Linked DNA regions of Homo sapiens: all the other regions are linked to region 1. The links are contacts of gene promoters, found by promoter capture Hi-C in blood cells and fetal thymus (Javierre and others, 2016). All regions are on one chromosome and are shown on one strand. Each heading gives the region's core, a stretch centred on a gene start or on the middle of the fragment in contact. The rest is flanking DNA. Distances are from core to core; before and after follow the strand shown.

Region 1 (2,872 bases), core at 255-2,754:
CCTGTCTCTACTAAAAATACAAAAATTAGCTAGGCGTGGTGGTGCATGCCTGTAGCCCCAGCTGCTTGGGAGGCTGAGGCAGGAGAATTACTTGAACCAGGGAGGCAAGGCTGCAGTGAGCTGAGATCAGGCCACTGCACTCCAGCCTAGGCAACAGAGCAAGACGCCGTCTCAAAGAAAAAAAAGATTTACATGGGTCCCGTTCCACCTCCTTTGCATGGGAAGGTTGGGGGAGCAGCACTGTAGGATTTCCTGGGCAACCAATGCCCAGGAGGCCAGCCTAAACCATGTCCCCTGCTTTTTGGGGCACTGGCTAGGTTCTGAATGTTGGTGTCTCCCCTAAATTTATATGTTGGAAACCTCATTCCCAAGATGATGGCATTAGGAGGTGGGACCTTTGGGAGGTGACTAGGTCATGAGTGCAGAGCCCTCAAAATTGGGATTAGTGCCCTCAGAAAAGAGGCCCCAGAGAGCTGCCTTTCCCCTGTGAGGACACGGGAACCAGAACTCTGGCCCTCGCCAAACACCTAATCTATTGACACCTTGATCTTGGACCTCCCAGTCTCCAGAACTGTGAGAAACACGTTCTATTGTTTATAAGCCACTCAGTTTATGGTATTTTGCTATAGCAGTTTGAAGGGACTAAGCCAGGACTCCAGCTTTCCTTTCTGGCCTCTGCTGGGAAACAGCTCCTGCTCTGTGGTCACAGTCTTGTGGGCTCCCCGTTCCCTGAGCTCTGAGTGGGCTCAACAAAGTGAAATGTGGAAGAGGAAAAAGAGATCTGGGGCTTGACCAGACTTGTGTGTCCCAGGACATCTGCAGTGACTGCCTTCAGAAAACCTTCCAGGAAGAACGTCAGTCATGCCTTCCGGGAGCTCAGGTCTGAGGCATCTGGTTGTACCACAGCCCTGATGGCAGGGGACTTCAGACTGCTCATGCCGGCCTGGCACTTCCTGATTCGACTTCAGCAAGGCAGGCAATGTTCTAGAACCTGACCTCCGATTTAAACTGAGTTTCTCCTTCCCTTGAGCAAGGAGGACAGTGAATCAGAAGGACGTAGATCCCCTCACTGTATCACTGTGTGTGTATCTACTCACTGTGCGTGCGTGTTCTCACGGCCCCATTGCATTATTTAAAGGGACACTAGTTTATTCGGATGGAGAGCTCAGTCCACCCCACGTCAAGCTTATGAAGCCCATTTCCTGGCCCCCTTCTAGGAATGTCGGGAGGAGGGTGTCGCGTGGGCTTTGAAGTAGGACAGACCTGGGTTTGGGTTTCTGTTCTGCCACTTGTCCTTGGTGACTGAGCCTCAGTCTACTTGGTTGGGAAATAGGACGGTCGGGAGTGAACCCGCCCAGGGTGGGCTTCCAGTCACCCGCACATATGCGGGGCACTGGCCGCCCATCCCTGCCAGGCCCCGAGGATGCCCGCGCTCGTCCTCGGCGTCGCGGGTTGGGCGCGCTCCCGGGCGCATTCCCGGCCGGGCAGCCCCTCCTCCCTCGTCCTTAGCCCAGGGGCCGGCGCCTCCCCGCCTCGCGCGGACTGTCTCGTGCGGGCAGCTGCGGGCGCACCTGGACCCTCGCAAGGCCCGGGCGGCGCCGATCCCCGCGGGACGCGCTGCGCTCGGGGCCTCCCGCCTCCCCCCCTGCCCCAGCCGCCCCCCGGCCGCGCGGCGCCCCGCACCCTGCAGGGACGGCTGCCGCATCGCTGGGACAAACTCGGCAGCGGAGGCAAAGTTATTTCCCCTCCCAGGCAGCGGGATTCCGACTGGCAAGATGGTGCCCAGCTCTCCGCGCGCGCTCTTCCTTCTGCTCCTGATCCTCGCCTGCCCCGAGCCGCGGGCTTCCCAGGTCAGTGTCCCTCCCGCCTCTCTCCAGGCCAGTGTCCCTCCCGCCTCTCTCCAGGCCAGTGTCCCTCCCGCCTCTCTCCAGGCCAGCGTCCCTCCCGCCTCTCTCCCCTGTCCCTCCCGCCTCTCTCCCCTGTCCCTCCCGCCTCTCTCCAGGTCAGTGTCCCTCCCGCCTCTGTCCCCTGTCCCGCGCGCCTCTCTCCACGCCAGTGTCCCTCCCGCCTCTCTCCAGGCCAGCGTCCCTCCCGCCTCTCTCCAGGCCAGCGTCCCTCCCGCCTCTCTCCAGGTCAGCGTCCCTCCCGCCTCTCTCCAGGCCAGCGTCCCTCCCGCCTCTCTCCAGGTCAGCGTCCCTCCCGCCTCTCTCCAGGCCAGTGTCCCTCCCGCCTCTCTCCAGGCCAGCCAGTGTCCCTCCCGCCTCTCTCCACGCCAGTGTCCCTCCCGCCTCTCTCCAGGCCAGTGTCCCTCCCGCCTCTCTCCAGGCCAGTGTCCTTCACGCCTCTCTCCAGGTCAGTGTCCCTCCCGCCTCTCTCCAGGCCAGCGTCCCTCCCGCCTCTCTCCAGGTCAGCGTCCCTCCCGCCTCTCTCCAGGCCAGCGTCCCTCCCGCCTCTCTCCACGCCAGTGTCCCTCCCGCCTCTCTCCAGGTCAGTGTCCCTCCCGCCTCTCTCCAGGCCAGTGTCCCTCCCGCCTCTCTCCAGGCCAGTGTCCCTCACGCCTCTCTCCAGGTCAGTGTCCCTCCCGCCTCTCTCCAGGCTAGTGTCCCTCCCGCCTCTCTCCAGGCCAGCGTCCCTCCCGCCTCTCTCCAGGTCAGCGTCCCTCCCGCCTCTCTCCAGGCCAGCGTCCCTCCCGCCTCTCTCCACGCCAGTGTCCCTCCCGCCTCTCTCCAGGCTAGTGTCCCTCCCGCCTCTCTCCAGGCCAGCGTCCCTCCCGCCTCTCTCCAGGTCAGCGTCCCTCCCGCCTCTCTCCAGGCCAGCGTCCCTCCCGCCTCTCTCCACGCCAGTGTCCCTCCCGCCTCTCTCCAGGTCAGTG
Region 2 (2,872 bases), core at 109-2,608, 200 kb after region 1:
TGCGGTCTTCCTGAAAGACTACTTACTTCATAAAGGTATTATGTTTCTTTAATTAATGGCCACTAGAAGTTAGGAAGCTCCTAGGGACCAGGATATGAGATCTTAAAGAGGCTGTCAGAATCTCTTCATTTGCATGACATAGAATCTGTGGTGGAGATGTTTTCCCTGATGTTTTTGGAGGGTTGGACTGTGTTGAAGGCTGTACCTTGGTGGGGGTGGTCTGCAGTCATGCAGTCCACTGATAGGGTCCCCCACCCCGCAAGCTTCAATAATTGAGCTTTCTGTTAATTTCTTGAATTATCTTTTCAAAAATGGTTTGGCAGCACTTGATGACATTATGTTCAAAATTAAGTCCAGTAAAATATATAAGCATTTGTAAACTATAATTATAGTTTAAATAAGACTTAGTTTAGGAAATCCAAGTTTTGACATATATAACCAAACGGCCTAAGAGTTCAAAGCTATTTTCTTAGGTGTTACACCTTAGCATTTACATAATGCCTTCTCCCCAAGCAGTTTCATGTGGTTTGCAGAAAGTTTTGGCAGCTACCAGTCACTATATTGCTGGAGTTTTGTGTTTGAGTATGTCATTTATGTCATTTATCAGCAGTATCTGCCAGTTGTGACAAAGCCCTCCCTATTATCCTGCCTTTCCTGGAAAGGATACAGACCCAAGAAAAGTTAACATCTACATAGTACTTAGAATTTCTAATTTTAAAATAAGAAACAAAAAGCACATTTAAAATAATATTTTATGCTTTTGGAGACAGGACCCACATGTATCTCCTTATTTTTATACTTGCCATAGAAACAAGCCTAGTTGTAGGCCTACAGTGGGTGCTTTGTTAACTGCTTGTTGATGGCTTCCTGACATCCATCCAAATGTCACTTTTACAGATGCTGTCACCCGTTAAACAGGTGTGGCAGAAGTATTCCATGACTGCATTAGGAAGAATGCACCTTATGGGTTATATCTCTTTTGGTAGACAGCCCACCTGCTCTTTTTTGTCCCCACCCTCAGCCCAAGCAATGTGAAGACAGATTATGGCAACTTAGGAGCTCCATGTTTCCATAATAATTCATAACTTTAAGAGTCCTCCAGACTTACAAGATTACTTCATGGTGAAAGTTTGGATTGATCAATAATTTATTCCTATAAAGGTCTGCAGGATTTTTTCTGTAACCAGAAAAGTAACTGCATAGCCATTCTTTTTTTTTTTTTTTAATTTGTTGTTGTTTTTGTTTGAGACAGAGTCTTCATTCTTGTTGCCCAGGCTGGAGTGTAATGGTGCAATCTCGGATCACTGCAACCTCTGCCTCCCAGGTTCAAGTGATTCTCCTGCCTCAGACTCCCAAGTAGCTGGGCTTACAGGCACGTGCCACCACACCCAGCTAATTTATTGTATTTACTAGAGACGGGGTTTCACCATGTTGATCAGGCTGATCTTGAACTCCTGACCCCAGGTGATCCACCCGCCTCAACCTCCAAAAGTGTTGGGGTTACAGGCGTGAGCCACCGTGCTCAGCCTGTTTTTTATTTATTTTTTTGAGACAGTCTCACTTTGTCGCTCAGGCTGAAGTGCAGTGGCGCTATCAGCTCACAGCAGCCTCCGCCTCCCAGGTTCAAGCAATTCTCCCACCTTAGCTTCCTGAGTAGCTGGAACTACAGGTGTGTGCCACCACACCCAGCTAATTTTTGTATTTTTTTGGTAGAGACAGGGTTTGACCATGTTGGCCAAGCTGATCTTGAACTCCTGGCCTCAAGTGATCCACCAGTCTTGGCCTCTCAAAGTGCTGGGATCACAGGCATGAGCCACCACGCCTGGCCCAGTCTTTTTTTTTAATTATTATTTATTTTTATTTATTTATTTTTTGAGACGGAGTCTTGCTCTGTTGCCCAGGCTGGAGTGTAGTGGCATGATCTTGGCTCACTGCAACCTCTGCCTCTGGGTTCAAGCAATTCTCCTGCCTCAGCCTTCTGAGTAGCTGGGATTATAGGCATGCGCCACCACAACCAGCTAATTTTTTATATTTTTGGTAGAGACACAGTTTCATCATGTTGGCCCGGCTGGTCTCAAACTCCTTACCTCAAGTGATCTGCCCGCCTCAGCCTCCCAAAGTGCTGGGATTACAGGCGTGAGCCACTGTGCCTGGCCAGTCTTTTATTTTAAAATAAATACTTAGTCCTAACCTAGTGAATTATCAATAGCATTTAAAATTCCTTCTATCCTGATACCATGAACAGTAATTTTCCCTTTTAAGTTATGATTTGACTCTAATTTTGGGTCTTGTATCTGGTCTTTAAACACCTTTCGTTACCCTTTGGAATAGAACAATCATGCTACTGTTAGCAAAATTATTGTAGGCATAAGGAAGAGCTGTGAGTTCAAAGAAGATTGTGAGTTCTTGGAATAGTATTTTACAGCGTTGTTTATTCTTGACCTTCTTGTTTTTTAAGCTTAGAGTTTATAAGAAAAAAGTGAATATATAGCTAATTATAGCATTTTAGAAAAAATTAGCTCTGCAGATAGTCAGGCCCCATACTTCTTGGCTCATTACTGATTTTAATACCTTCATGAGAGTATTAAGGTTGAAAGGAATGGTGAAATTTGCATTATCAGAGGTCTGATATGTAATTTATTGTAAAGAAATTAAATATATAGAGGCTCAATTAAAAAATAACCATATTCTCAAACCTCCATTACCACTAATATCTTGGGGTTGTCAATGATAGACTATATATATATGTATGTATATGTGTGTATATATATATATATATATATATATATATATATATATATATATATATATATATATATAATTTTTTTTTTTTGAGACGGAGTCTTGCTCTGTCACCCAGGCTGGAGTACAG
Region 3 (2,872 bases), core at 255-2,754, 180 kb after region 1:
TTGGCTCCATGGATTTGTTCACCCTCATGTCTGTCTTGCTTTGCTGTGATTATTTCTGCCACAACAGCCACGGTAATATTTGGTAGATTCTGATGTTTATTTTTCCAGATAAATTTTTAAATTCTGTTGTCGTGTTTAAAAAATGTGAAAAAAAAGAAAGTGAATAAAATGAAAAATGCCTGTTATCATAGATCAAAATGTCAAAAAATGGAACGATGTAATTACCAGAGGAATACATGATGAATTGGAACAGAAAAATTTCCTGTCTCAAAATCCAGAAGCAAAAAGGGAACAGATTGAAATTTTGACTCCATGAAAAAGCTTGCATTTGCAAAACAAATACATATAACATGAGCTAAATAATAAGATAAATAATGAAGTGAGAAAGATTATGTGTAATTTATATCACTTACGAAGAGGTCATATCCTTAATATATGAGTTTCTAAACATTGAGAAGAAAAATGAGGGAAGAGATACAGATAATTCCCAGAAAGAGAAATGCAAATGGTCCCAAAACATACAGAAAGATGTTCAATCTTGTTCCTAATAAGGGGAATGTAATTTAAGCTACACTGAGATAACATTTGCAGCTGTGTCACGTTTGCAAAAATAAAAAAATCGTGACAGTGAAGTTTGTTAGCAAGGATGTGAGAAGACCTTGATGCTGGCAATGTCAAAATGGTGCATTCCTATGGAGGAGAGCTTGGTAAATGCAATATGCATTTACCCTTTGACCCAGCAATCCCACGTTTTGCAGTTTCTCCACAATAGACCTGGGCAGTGATTACTGATGGCTGCTAAAATCATGAGGTGAAAAGTTAATTAGGAACTTTACAACTGATGGATGGAGCTGACAACACCTGAAAGGACTGATCAGTCTTAACATTACTAAAAAGAAACAACCAGATATTAAATGCCTTTTGATATGATACAGTAGAGAGTATTTGAATACCATCTATGACCAATATTAAAATTAACAAATGATACAAAAATAAAAGGGAAAGGGGAACTTCTAGAAATCAGTAAAAGTAACTTGGGAGATGTATTAACTAGATACAATTTGTGGATCATCTTTATGTCCTGATCTGAAGAAAGGAATTATAAAAACATACTTTTTTAAAAGTCTGGAAAATTTGTATATTGACTGGTTACTAGTTGAAATTAACACATTAATTTTGCCAGGGTGGTAATGAAGTCGTGATTGGTAAGAAAAAGTATTCCTGGCCAGGCATGGTAGGTCACACCTGTAATCCTAACACTGGGATGCTGGGGTGGGAGGATTGATTGAGGCCAGGAGTTGGAGACCAGCCTGGGTAACATAGTGAGACACCTCCCCCACTCCCATAACTAATTTAAAGAGGAAAGGGGCCAGGCACGGTGGCTCATGCCTGTAATCCCACCACTTTCGGAGGCCAAGGCGGGTGGATCACCTGAGGTGAGGAGTTCAAGACCAACCTGGCCAACATAGTGAAACCCCATCTCTACTAAAAATACACAAATTAGTTGGGCATGGTAGCGTGCACCTGTAATCCCAGCTACTTGGGAAGCTGAGGCAGGAGAATCGCTTGAACCTGGGAGGTGGAGGTTGCAGTGAGCCAAGATGGTGCCACTGCACTCCAGCCTGAGCAACAGAGCAAGACTCTGTCTCAAAAAAAAAAAGGAAAGAAACAATAGTCCTTATGTTGAGAATAGGTATGGAAATATTTACAACAAATGATGAAAGTTGTTGAACCTATGAGGTCAACATGAGAGGGACTTCATTTTATTATTCTCTCTACTTTGGTATGGTTAATGACCTTCAAACAAACTTAGAAAAAAAATCCTAAGTAATGTCATCCTACAGAGAACCATACTTGGAGTATGGCATAAAGCCTTTCAGACTTTTTTTCTATGCTGGTATGTATGTATGAATGGATGTGTATATGTTTATACACATAATTTTTTATTTTTGTGAGACGGAGTTTCACTTTTGTTGCCCAGGCTGGAGTCCAATGGCGCGTTCTCCGCTCACTGCAACCTCTGCCTCCCGGGTTCAAGCAATTCTCCTGCCTCAGCCTCCCGAGTAGCTGGGATTACAGGCATGCACCACCACGCCTGGCTAATTTTTGTATTTTTAGTAGAGATGTTGTTTCTCCATGTTGATCAGACTGGTCTCAATCTCCCGACCTCAGGTGATCCGCCTGCCTCGGCCTCCCAAAGTGCTGGGATTATAGGCGTGAGCCACTGGGCCCAGCCTATACACATAATTTTTTAGAAAAATGAAATCTATAATGATTGTGAATATTGTATTTTTAAATTTAACATTTACATTAATATGGACTGTATTTTAATACACAGTGTGTTAATAAGGACCTTTATTCAGATGATTAACTCATTGTCTTATCTTTACTGATTTAAAATGGCATCTTCACCAGACCCTAAATTCTCATTTGTACACAGTTCTGCTTCTATACTACTCTTATCTATTGTGGTATTTGATTATTCACCTCTGTAAGAGTATGTTTGATATTTGGTAAGGCAAATACTCCTTCCTTTTTAAAAAAAATGTTGTAATAGTCTCAGGTCAGAAGTGATTTGGCAAATAATAAAAACAAATAAAATGTAATGAATTTGTCCTATTCAAGAAAAATAAATTTTTTCAGATTTGACATATTTCTTTAGAAAGCAAATACTTTATTCTGTTTCTGAAAGCTTTCCATCTATTCTTATGGGGTTTTTGTTATATAGTCATGCTGTTTGTAAATAATAATAATTTTACTTCATTTACAATATTTATACCTCTTATTTAATTTTAATTGTATTGGCCACATTTCCAGAAGAATGTTAAATAATAGTGACTGTGGCAGACATAAAACATGTTTTAATGATAGT
Region 4 (2,872 bases), core at 146-2,645, 160 kb after region 1:
GGAATGTTAAATGAAGACGAATTCGCAACAGAAACCATATATGGCCTGCAAATGTAAAATATTTACTATCTGGGCCTTTATAGAAAAATTTTTCAAGTGCTTGTCTAAATGAATATAACATAAATCCTTGGCATATGCTTTTTTTCTTTTGAAAATCTTTCTGTAAGATTTGTTTTAGAATGATATTTGAAAATTAAAATTTTCCTTCTATAGAGAAGATGGCGAATTAGAAGATGGTGAAATAGACGATGCAGGATTTGAAGAAATACAAGAAAAAGAAGCAAAAGAGAATGAAAAGCAGAAAAGTGAGAAAGCCTACAGAAAATCAAGAAAAAAACATAAGAAAGAGAGAGAGAAGAAAAAATCCAAAAGGAGAAAACGTGAGAAACATAAGGTTAGTTAGAATCTACTTTTTATTCTTTTGATAAATGTTTATGAAATATAAAATACTGAAAATTAGAAAGTAGAAGTCATTATTTTATTATAAAACATGTGGATTAGATATTTTCATTTATGTGATTAAACTTTCTAAACAAAGATTATATGAATTATCTTAAAGATTTAAAAAGTAATTAAGTTAAATCTTTTTTTTTTTTGAGATAGGGTCTATTGTCCAGGCTTGAGTGCAGTGGCACAATTTTGGCTCACTGCAGCCTTGATCTCCCAGGCTTAGGTGATCCCCCACTCAGCCTCCTGAGTAGCTGGAACTACAGGTGCACACCACCACACTTGGCTAATGTTTTATTTTTAGTAGAGACAGGGTTTTGCCATGTTGCCCAGGCTGGGCTCAAACTGCTGGGCTCAAGTGATGTGCCAACCGTGGCCTCCCAAATTGCTAGGTTTACAGGTGTGAGCCACCACACCGGGCTTCAAGTTAAATTTTAACGCAGATTGAAATAAATAATATTTTAATTGATGGAAGCTTGTATACATGGATATTGGAAGATTAAGGAAAGAGAGTTTCATTCTCTACAGATACAGATTAGCAGCATTGGCATTGTCCATCTATTTATTATTCATTTAGGTATATGATCGAGTGCTTACTATGGAAACCTTTATGCTGTATGCTGAGGGTTATAGTAGTGAGTGAAATAGTTGGCTCTTAAAGAGTTTACATTGCAATGGGAAAGCTATGAAAAAAACAACAAGGTACTGGATAGAGAATTATGTGGATTTGGGGTAGGGAAGAAGGGGAACCTATGCTGACTGAGAAATCATGGACAAGTTGGCAGCAATGTAGGAGCAGGTTTTGAAACTCCCTGAATTTCCTCCATTAAAATCACATCAATTAGGATAACACAACCAAAACCCATTGACAACATCTACAAAAAAAGGAAGAAACAAGTTATCTCTAATAAACCTAAAAAGTACAAATGACTGGAGCCAAACGATAGACAGCAACAAGAGCAGTGTAACAACAGCATCAGTACAAATGAAGCAGAGGGAAAATAAAGGGACTTCCAGAAACCAAGTTGCCAACAGATATTCACCTCAAATGGTCAGTGCCCAGCACGGAAACCTCATGGGCCTGAGAACAGCAACAGAAACTGGGAGGGGGCTGTGCTATCACCAGTTCATGCATGAATGTAAGGTGACCACAGAAATTGGATGGTGCTGAAAAGATCTGGACCTGATGAACCCCAAATATGAATCAACCAAATTCCTTTTTATGACAGAGTCCCACACTGAGGAGGTAACTGCTGGAAGTAAAGTCTACATTGAGAAACAGGCATATAGGGCCAAGGAAAGAAATAGTCAGATAACAAATGGGGGAAGGAAGCAGAAGAGGCATAGCTCAGAAAATAGCCATATTTTTGAATACTTCATGCTAACAACAGAAGAGATAACCCTAGAGCTATGAAGCTAGGAAAGCTTTATTGGCCCATTCCATCCATTTTTTTCACATGAGAAGCAAGATAAGACTATGGTCACATTCCATAGTTGTTATTGTAAGATAAAAGAGAATAATGGAGAGTAAGTCTTCCAGAAAAGAAAGCATGCCCACAAAGCATATGAAAAATTTAACCTAATATTTTAAAATGACAAAAAATTAAGAAAACAATATAAGCTATGCTCAAACAGCATAGAATAATAACAAAACAAAACAAAACCAAAAGGAAGTACTTAATAAAATTATAAGCAGAAGTGAATGAATTAGAATGAAAACCAATAGTTTTTTAAAAAAGATCAACAACATATATATCATTGACCAAACTTATCAATAATAAAAGGGAAAAGAAAAATAAATGTATATATGCTGAGGGTGAAATAACTATCAAAAAGGAAATTCAAATCATAAGAAATTTATGTATATAATTTTATGAAAATAAATATTAAAAGCAAGATGAAATGGAAAATTTTCTAGAAAAGTACTACCTAACAAAATTAATTCTAGAGAGTCAAAAAGTCTGAGACTTTTTGGAGTTTGTAATCTACCCTACCAAGAAACACAAGGACCAAATCTTTTCAGAGTATAATTCTATTAGTATTTTTCAGGTGAAAGGTTTTCCTTAGAGCTGGAGCTGACTTCTGATGGTGACTGAGCAAACATGGCTTTTAAATAGACACTATTTATTTTAAATCCTAGCCAAGAATGATTAGATACTTAAAGTTGAAGCATTTGACAGCATAATTATAAAAATATTTCTTTATGTCACCTATCAAATCAACAAAGACAAAAGCAATAAAATCATAAAAACCAAACTCCAGACCATTTAGGAACAAGATGGAGGAAAGCAATTTGTCTTTCCTAAAATAACATTTCAGGATGGATTAGAGAAAAACAGAGCCTTCCCTTGTAAAAGCATCAGAGTTCAATCATTTCAGCAAATTTTTACTGAGTTTGTACTAGATCTAGATGCTGGGACTGCAA

The links. Contacts are between HindIII fragments. The CHiCAGO score rates a contact against its expected background, and 5 or more counts as called.
Region 2: a contact is called between a fragment that was not itself captured here and the fragment with the promoter of FBLN7 in region 1, in 1 of 17 cell types (non-activated CD4 T cells). The highest score is 5.3, in non-activated CD4 T cells.
Region 3: a fragment that was not itself captured here is called in contact with the fragment with the promoter of FBLN7 in region 1 in 1 of 17 cell types (activated CD4 T cells); the score reaches 5.1 in activated CD4 T cells.
Region 4: a contact is called between a fragment that was not itself captured here and the fragment with the promoter of FBLN7 in region 1, in 1 of 17 cell types (activated CD4 T cells). The highest score is 7.3, in activated CD4 T cells.

The regions. Positions count from the first base shown.
Region 1 is chr2:112,136,881-112,139,752 of GRCh38, forward strand. It overlaps FBLN7 (fibulin 7), which reads left to right and starts at 1,505. Exons shown (of 8, transcript NM_153214.3): 1 at 1,505-1,850. The coding sequence starts at 1,776. The HindIII fragment of the contact is 8,502 bases long and covers 1,184-2,872 here.
Region 2 is chr2:112,336,094-112,338,965 of GRCh38, forward strand. ZC3H6 (zinc finger CCCH-type containing 6) reads left to right here. Exons shown (of 12, transcript NM_198581.3): 12 at 1-2,872. Among named protein-coding and RNA genes, the nearest start is that of ZC3H6, 62 kb to the left of the region's middle. The HindIII fragment of the contact is 2,195 bases long and covers 262-2,456 here.
Region 3 is chr2:112,317,997-112,320,868 of GRCh38, forward strand. The region is part of intron 7 of ZC3H6 (zinc finger CCCH-type containing 6); the gene reads left to right. Among named protein-coding and RNA genes, the nearest start is that of ZC3H6, 44 kb to the left of the region's middle. The HindIII fragment of the contact is 2,371 bases long and covers 320-2,690 here.
Region 4 is chr2:112,299,636-112,302,507 of GRCh38, forward strand. ZC3H6 (zinc finger CCCH-type containing 6) reads left to right here. Exons shown (of 12, transcript NM_198581.3): 2 at 214-394. Among named protein-coding and RNA genes, the nearest start is that of ZC3H6, 25 kb to the left of the region's middle. The HindIII fragment of the contact is 950 bases long and covers 921-1,870 here.